Regions from separate parts of the Homo sapiens genome. Here all the other regions are linked to region 2. Evidence: promoter capture Hi-C in 16 types of primary human blood cells and fetal thymus (Javierre and others, 2016). All regions are on one chromosome and are shown on one strand. Each heading gives the region's core, a stretch centred on a gene start or on the middle of the fragment in contact. The rest is flanking DNA. Distances are from core to core; before and after follow the strand shown.

Evidence for each region. The method cuts DNA at HindIII sites, captures the fragments that hold promoters and counts their contacts. A CHiCAGO score of 5 or more calls a contact.
Region 1: a contact is called between the fragment with the promoter of RAB3GAP1 here and the fragment with the promoter of CXCR4 in region 2, in 2 of 17 cell types (fetal thymus and monocytes). The highest score is 5.7, in fetal thymus.
Region 3: the fragment with the promoter of CCNT2-AS1 here is called in contact with the fragment with the promoter of CXCR4 in region 2 in 1 of 17 cell types (fetal thymus); the score reaches 7.5 in fetal thymus.

What each region holds. Positions count from the first base shown.
Region 1 is chr2:135,050,950-135,053,649 of GRCh38, forward strand. It overlaps RAB3GAP1 (RAB3 GTPase activating protein catalytic subunit 1), which reads left to right and starts at 1,343. Exons shown (of 24, transcript NM_012233.3): 1 at 1,343-1,376; 2 at 1,481-1,536. The coding sequence starts at 1,359. RefSeq lists an enhancer at 1,916-2,055. The HindIII fragment of the contact is 10,130 bases long and covers 1-2,700 here.
Region 2 is chr2:136,116,863-136,119,562 of GRCh38, forward strand. It overlaps CXCR4 (C-X-C motif chemokine receptor 4), which reads right to left and starts at 1,287. Exons shown (of 2, transcript NM_003467.3): 1 at 1,184-1,287. The coding sequence starts at 1,198. RefSeq lists a silencer at 1-78 and an enhancer at 209-278. The HindIII fragment of the contact is 7,141 bases long and covers 1-1,721 here.
Region 3 is chr2:134,917,253-134,919,952 of GRCh38, forward strand. It overlaps CCNT2-AS1 (CCNT2 antisense RNA 1), which reads right to left and starts at 1,354. Exons shown (of 5, transcript NR_036549.1): 1 at 1,311-1,354. It overlaps CCNT2 (cyclin T2), which reads left to right and starts at 1,570. Exons shown (of 9, transcript NM_058241.3): 1 at 1,570-1,760; 2 at 2,558-2,639. The coding sequence starts at 1,603. RefSeq lists enhancers at 480-529, 539-1,212, 1,290-1,449, 1,600-1,869, 2,080-2,169 and a silencer at 1,210-1,279. The HindIII fragment of the contact is 7,926 bases long and covers 1-2,700 here.

The DNA.
Region 1 (2,700 bases), core at 93-2,592, 1.1 Mb before region 2:
GCCAATGATTGACGGAGCAAGGCAGTAGTACAAGGGGCTACGCATTTCCTGATGCATAATTTTTGCCCTAGCACTTCCAGTTGGACTTCAGAGACTTCGCCAGCTTGGAATTGTAGTGTCTGCTTTTTTAGAGCACCAGTCTGAAAAAAAAATAGTGAAAAAGCAAGCTGCAGAGTGGGAGAAGGTATTTGCTACATATATAAACAATATAAAGCTCAGATGCAGAATATATATAAATAACTTGAAGGTGTTAAAATAAAGACAAGGCCAGGCACAGTGGCTCACACCTGTAATCCCAGCACTTTGGGAGGCCGAGGGGGGCGGATCACAAGGTCAGGAGATCGGGACCATCCTGGCCAACATGGTGAAACCCCATCTCTACCAAAAATACAAAAATTAGCTGGGTGTTGTGGCGCATGCCTGTAATCCCAGCTACTCGGGAGGCTGAGGCATGAGAATCACTTGAACCCAGGAGGCAGAGATTGCAGTGAGCCGAAATCGCGCCACTGCACTCCAGCCTGGCGACAGAACCGAGGTGGGCAGATCATGAGGTCAGGAGATCGAGACCATCCTGGCTAACACGATGAAACCTCATCTCTACTAAAAATACAAAAAATTAGCCGGGCGTGGTGGCGAGCGCCTGTGGTCCCGGCTACTCGGGAGGCTGAGGCAGGAGAATGGCGTGAACCCGGGAGGCGGAGCTTGCAGTGAGCCAAGATCGTGCCACTGCACTCCAGCCTGGGCGACAGAGCAAGACTCCGTCTCAAAAAAAAAAAAAAAAAAAAAAAAAAAAAAAAAAAAATGAAGCGTTTGTTGAACACCATGTTGCTCTTCCCAGAAACCAGGTAACTAGTATGATTTTATTTCAGGACAATCAACTGAGCAACTTCTTGCAGGGTCAGGGGCAGAGGGTAGAAGTGGTATTACAGCACCTAGTTTATTGCCTTACAATCAATAAATAGAGGGTGAATGAAAAGAAACCCAATAGTTAAAGTGTAAGCTAATTGGTACTAACTACAAATATGGGTTGAATGAAAACAAACCCAACATGCTTTAGGTTTTTTAATACAATCTTATCCACATGAGTTTAGGGTCTTGTCCTATCACCTTGGCTTCTGTTCCCTTTCTGTATTCATCACAGGAAATTTTCAAGTTTTATGAAACCAGCTAGAGCGGAGTTTTATTAACCAGCTGAGGGCGGACTAAAGACTTAACAGACCTGGGCGAAGAAGCAGCACTCCTACTTACTAGGGCAAGACTCATGAACAGGGGGCGGGGGCTCCGGGGGCGGGGACGCGCCCCGTTCTCTTTCGCTCTTCTTCCCGGCAGCCTTAGCGCCAGGCCCGGCGCTCCTCAAGATGGCTGCCGACAGTGAGGTGATTTCTTTGCTCCCTACTTAATCCTTGTCACTATCTAAATTCGTTCCTCATGTCTTCGCCTTGGGGCTTAATTTCTTTTTCTCTCCTTCCCCTTCCCGCAGCCCGAATCCGAGGTATTTGAGATCACGGACTTCACCACTGCCTCGGAATGGGAAAGGTGAGTGAATCGCATTTTTGGTTACCAGCTCCCATGGGCCCTGGCGTCCCCTAGCCGCTTCCCTGACCCCAGACACACCACAAGTGACGCCACTTGTGCGGGAACGGTAATACCGTGGGTCCCGGGTCTCCTCCCCCAGTCTTCTTTGGTCAACCGCAAGCCTCTTCCGCGTCTCGCGTCTGGCAACACCCGGCCCGCCCCCGTCAGCCAATCCCTGAGGCTCAGGCTCTCAGAAAGTTTTGTTTTCTCTCCTGTCAGACCGCTTCCCTTAGACTTTGGTTTTCTGGTTGTTACCCACTCGCAAGAAAAATTTCCGAGGCTGCAACAACCGTTCCGGTTTTCATTACCGTTTAACTCATTATCGTAAGCAGTAAACTTGGTAGGTTGTGCCGCACCTCATCCCGTGTACGTTGGTATACCCTTTTCAGGAGGAAGTCTTTCTTCAGAGTATTGGTAGTTGTCCATCTGTCACACTCCCACCATCTCCATGCTGTCTTTAATTTTTTATTTTTATTTATTTTTGGAGACAGAGTCTCAGTCTGTCCGCCCAGGCCGGAGTGCAGTGGCGAGGTCATAGCTTACTGCGGCCTCGAACTCCTAGGCTCAAGTGAAGCTCCCGCTTTAGCCTCGGGAGGAGCTGGGACCACAGGCACGCGCTATTACGCCCAACTAATTTTTTAAAGATCTCGCTGTGTTGCCCAGGCTAGTCTTGAACTCCTGGGCTCAAGCCTGGGCCGCCCAAAGTGCTGAGATTACAGGCGTGAGCCTCCGCCCATCCTGTCTTTTAGAATAACCTTTTTAAAAAGTCTGCATATGGTTTTGGAATGCTTTGATTTAAGTTGTTACATTAAAGTGGGTACTGTGCCCAGGCTTCCTGTGCCTGTCAAATTCAGATGAACAGCTGTCTGGGTGAAACTGTTCTATTACTGAAATTAGTTGAAAGCCAAGTTTGTGGAGGAGTGATAGCTTAGATCGAGAAGGTTTCTGTTAAGTGTCACAGAAACCCTTCAGTTTCCTGGGTGTTGAAGTCAGTGTTTACGCTGTTACAGCATTTTATAATCTTTCTGGTTGGGAGAGGAAATTTGTGGATGTCGTGTCATTAGGTGGCACAGGAAAATATAAAAGGTCCTTGTTGGAATAATAGTTAGACCTGTGGTACCCTTC
Region 2 (2,700 bases), core at 37-2,536:
GGGCCGCCGCGGCTGCCCACTACACCCACGCCAACCGCCCGCAAGCAGCGCTGCAGGGGCTCCGCTGGGCGACACGCCAGGCTCTGTCCCACAGGGTGCTGGGGAGCGACTGGGCGGCTCCGCCGCGAGCGTCTTTGAATTGCGCGCCGCTGCAGGAAACCAAAAACTCCCTAGCAAGAGGGTTTCAAAAGGTTTCTGGAAACCACCGACGGTTAAACATCACAACTGGACTCGGAGAGAGCCAAACGGTTTCCCCACTTGCACCTGCCAGTCTTCGCGGCGGCGACCTGGCAGCCCAGGTGCGGTCTTAACCGCCCCCGCCCCTCACCCCGTACCCGCTCCTATCCCCGGAGCGCAAATCTCAGGGCTGGCAGCTGCGCGGTGTCAAAGGGGAGGTCAAACCACTCCGCTGACCTCTGCACGACCCCAAACTCTCGAACTGCAGGACCCACTCGCGGCCGTGGGGAAGAGGCGCGCTTCGGACGGCGGGAAGGTTTTCCCCCTCAAACCCAAAGCGCGCGGGCGGATCAACTCCTAGCTGCTGCCACCACTCGATCCCCTCAGAGGATCGGCGCGGTGGGTCCACCCGCCTCTCCCGCCCTCTGCCTACTGTGCTGGGAGACTGGCACAGCTCCGTCGGCCGCACAGAGTTTAACAAACACGCACCCAGTGTCAAGAACAGTCACCAGGCGCTTAACCCCGAAGTTAAAGCGGGCGCAATCTCCTCCTGGGAACTCAGCCCAGGCACGCCGCCCTCCGCCTCTAAATTCAGACAATGTAACTCGCTCCAAGACATCCCCGCTTCCCCAAGGAAGAGACCGGTGGTCTGAGTCCCGAGGCAGCGCGCACGCCTTCTCTGCACTTGTGCACAGAATGTTCTTACGTTTGCAAACAGCGTGCAAGCCGCCGCGCGCGGCGGGACTCAAGGGGGAGACACATGCAGCCACTGGAACGCTCTTTCCAGTCGTTTCTCCTCGACTCACAGAGAAAAAGATTCCAATCCTGCTCCCCCCCCACCCACCCGCACTATATAGGCATGGTCAAGAAAACTCCTTTCGGTGACCCTTTTTTGGAGTACGGGTACCTCCAATGTCCTGGCCGCTTCTGCCCGCTCGGAGAGGGGCTGCGCTCTAAGTTCAAACGTTTGTACATTTATGACAAAGCAGGTTGAAACTGGACTTACACTGATCCCCTCCATGGTAACCGCTGGTTCTCCAGATGCGGTGGCTACTGGAGCACTCAGGCCCTCGGCGTCACTTTGCTACCTGCTGCCGCAGCCAACAAACTGAAGTTTCTGGCCGCGGCCGGACTTTTATAAAAACACGCTCCGAGCGCGGCGCATGCGCCGCTGGGGCGGGGAGGGAGAAGGCGGGGTGGGGGAGAGGGGCAGACGCGAGGAAGGAGGGCGCAGGGGCGGGGCGGAGAGGTGCGCGGCTTGGGAAGCCCAGGGGACCCTGCTGTTTGCGGGTGGTCGGTAGTGAGTCCGGAGCCGGACAGGACCTCCCAGAGGCATTTCCTAAGTTTGAGGGAAGCGGGATGCGCCTGAAGACAGGTGGGAAGCGCGGGCTAGGAACGCGTCTCTCTGTGGCGCGTCCATCCTTGCTAAAGTGGATGGAATTCCAGACCTGGGAATGCTACAGTAGAGACACTGAGGCCCAGGGAAGGGGAGTGACTTGCTGGAGTAACCCAACCAGTAGGCGGCAATGCTGGAAGTAGGGCCAAGCTTCCAACGCCATTCCCCGCGCTTTCAGCAGACGCAGCCCATTCAGGAGGTAAAAGGAGTAAAGATCCTTCCTTCGGAGGATGTAGCTATACTTGCACATTCACAGCATCACTAGGGTCAGGTGCAGATAATTAGGAGATACTTTCAGAAGAAGGTAGGATTTGGCATAATTCTGGAGACTGATCAGATGTAGATATGTATTGCTCAGTAATTTCATAATAGCGGTAACCAATTCGCGAATAGTGCTTTATTATCCTAAAAGTATGCTTTATTATAAGAGTAATTTAGCGACCAGTACTTTTTGTAACAGATCACTAGGAACTTGCACAGAATCACTCATTCATTCTCACAACACCGTGTGGGTATTACCATCACAGAGATGCATTTAGTCCGATATTTATAGAAGGACGAACTGCGTGCCACGCACTGTTCTAGGCGTTGGGGATCCAGCGTGAACCAGACAAGGCCCGCATTCGGAGAAACCAGCAAATAAGCCCGGAGAGATGAAATGCCAGGGATGGGCAGGGATTCCAAGCCGGGCTTGAACCCAGGTCTTCGGTCCCCATACTCGGCGTCTTCCACGATTTTGAGCAGAGGACAAGCTTTGGCACGAATCAGAAATTAGGTTGAAGAACTGGGCGGGGCGGAGTGGGGGTGGGGGTCAGACGTTTAAAGCGATCTCAGACTGGCTGAGGTTTGCAGTGGGCGCGCAGACAGTGCTTTCCCCCTCGCGCCACTTCCCTCCGGCGCGGAGACTGGGTGGGGCGGGGGAGCGAGTGTGGGGCGGGGCCGAGAAACTGCGTCCGCAGGCGGGGTGGCCGCTGCGGAGATAGCTGGGACCGAGGCGCGTGCGTCGCGACACGGACCCCAGAGGCCCCCACCCCGAAATGGTCCCGAGGAGAGGGATTGCCCAGACTGCACTCTACACACGATCCCTCTTTTCTATATCAAAAGAGGAAACATTTCAGTCTGGAGTG
Region 3 (2,700 bases), core at 104-2,603, 1.2 Mb before region 2:
TGCTGGGATTACAGCCGGGAAACACTGCACCTGGCCAAGGGTTTGCACTTTTAAAATGTTGCTTTAAATCAATCTATTCCAGAAATTGTAAGCAACATAAAACGTAAAGCAAGGGAAGTGAGTATGAAATAGCAACTGTTACAAAAACTGCCTACTATAATCAATATTCTTGTGCAATGCAGTATGCTGAGCGTGGGAGCCCCATAACAATCACTTGCCTCCATGGTCTTTGGCAAATAGATATTACTTTATTTTTTATTTTCGAGACAAGGTCTTGCACTATCGCCCAAGCTGGGGTGCAGCAGCGAGATCTAGCTCACCGCAGCCTCCACCTCCTGGGCTCAAGCCATCCTCCCACTTCAGCCTCGGGAGTAGCTGGGACTACAGGCGCGCCACCAAACCTGGCTAATTTTTGTATTTTTGGTAGAGACGGGGTATCGCCATGTTGCCCTTGCCCTCGAACTCCTGACCTCAAGTGATCGGCCCACTGGACCTCCCCAAGTGCTGAGATTACAGGCGTGAGCCACCGTGCCCGGCCTCCAAATAGTTAAGACTTTAAACTTAGAAACCCTATTCACAACACAAACTCCGAGTGAAGCTCAGTGGCATTTTCTTACAGGAAGAAATACAGGAGTTAATCAACAGGTATGTGGGATGTTCCCACATCAAATCCTAAAGATAAAATTTTAACTCAGTTCCTCCTGCACTATCTGATTCTCCCCAACCTTGTCTCGCAGAAACCACAGCGCAGCCTGAAAACACGCCCCGTCTAGATTCAACACCTCATTTAGAAATTCAATTTCTCGTTGCTAGTTGGATAGCGTTTGCCAAGTAATTTGAAAAAATAAAAATAAACCAAGTGGTCTGGGATTTAAACAAGATAATGTAGGGTGAAAAAAGCACTCAGGTGCGGACAGCCATGGAGCGTGACTTCCTGTGCACTCTTTCCCCGCCAGCTCAACGCCAGAGCCGCGCGCTAGGCGGAGACTGTTGGTGGCGGAGGCCGGAGTCGCACGCCTACGAGACTGCGCGGACCCGCCCAAAAGGAAAATGGAAGTAGTGGCGTGAGGCTGCGACAGTGAAGGTTATTTTTCTCTTTTTAAAGGGCCGCTAGACCTCCCGTCTAAAGGAAGCGCCCGACGGGCCTCCGAAGTACACGCCCAGGCCCCCACAGCGCAGCCGCCCGACCGCCTCTCTTCACACCGGCCAGAGTCCACCCTCTCCCACTTTCCCCTCCCCTCCCCTCCCCGCCCCTTCCCTCCCCACCCCTTCGCCCCGCCAACCCTAGACCCGGCATGCGCTGCGCCGACCTTTTCCTTCCGAGCCGACCTCTCCACCTTCGGCGCCTCCCAATGACAAGCGGCGCGGAGCATTGTGGTCCCGTGCGCAAGAGCGAGGCCGAGGGCAGAAAAAGAAAGCAAAAGACTAGGGCGAGTCGGTAGAGCGGGCCCCGCGCATGCGCAAGGGCGGAGGCGGTGGTGAAAAAGGGTGGTGCGTGGTCTACGGCGAGCGGAGTGGGGCGGGGTCGCGCGCCTTGGCGGGGAGTCCGCGAGCCAGGAGGGGCGGGGGGTGAATGAAGGAGCGGGCGGAGGAGGAAGTGTCATGGCGTCGGGCCGTGGAGCTTCTTCTCGCTGGTTCTTTACTCGGGAACAGCTGGAGAACACGCCGAGCCGCCGCTGCGGAGTGGAGGCGGATAAAGAGCTCTCGTGCCGCCAGCAGGCGGCCAACCTCATCCAGGAGATGGGACAGCGTCTCAATGTGTATCCTTTTCTGTTCGCCGCCGCTCACGCCCTGTTTCCCTTGCCCGGTCGCCGGGCCTGGTGCCCCGCGAACATGGCGCCGCCGGCCTCGGCCTTCGCTGGGCCTCGGCGCCGCGGTCAGGGAAGTAATGTTCCGGCTCGGGCAGTCGCGAGGGGTCAGCAGAGGAAGGGAGGAGGAGATAGGACCCCAGGAATGCGGGCCAGGAGCCTGCGTTGTGTAATCTGTTTGGGGCAGCGCGTGGTGGTGGCGGCGGGGGTTGGGAGTGTGGCTCAGGCGAAAGAGGAATTTTAGGGATTATTGCAGAAAAGGGGCGGCTCCCTGGACTTGTCCCTGACCCCGAAGGGTTTGAGAGGTAGGAGGGTTAGCGATGCTGAAAGGCCTAAGTGTTTGCCGCAGCCTTTCCCGGCTCTCGTCGCCGGCTTGATGGCGGCTCTCTTCTACCTTGGGAGCGTACTGGAGTTCTTTATGTTCTTGGCGTGGTTTTGTATGGGTGTGTGCGCGCGCGTTTCAACTGTTTCATTTTGAGTTTAGTTAGTCGTAGCCATTGATAAATAGTTCCAGGGCCCTCAGCGCTGTTAGAGTGAAAAGATCAGCAGTTCTTATTCCCATTTATTTGGCGTCAAGCCTATTCTCTTCCTGCCGCCCCACCCCCCGCGGGCATTTATTTCTTTATTTCCAGTTTGGGGTTTGGATTTGAATGGGAGGTATTGGAAAAGAACCTGGGAATTTTCCATCAAAATTGTTCTGGGAATGAGATCTTGCTTTTGTCAGATATTTCCTAAATATTACGTTCCAGCTCTCAGCTTACAATAAACACTGCGATTGTTTATATGCACAGGTTTTATATGCACCATTCTTTCACCAAATTCAACAAAAATGTAAGTACTAGTTGTCTGTTTTTACTGTCCGCAAATTTGAGGGTAAATCGATACGCAGAAA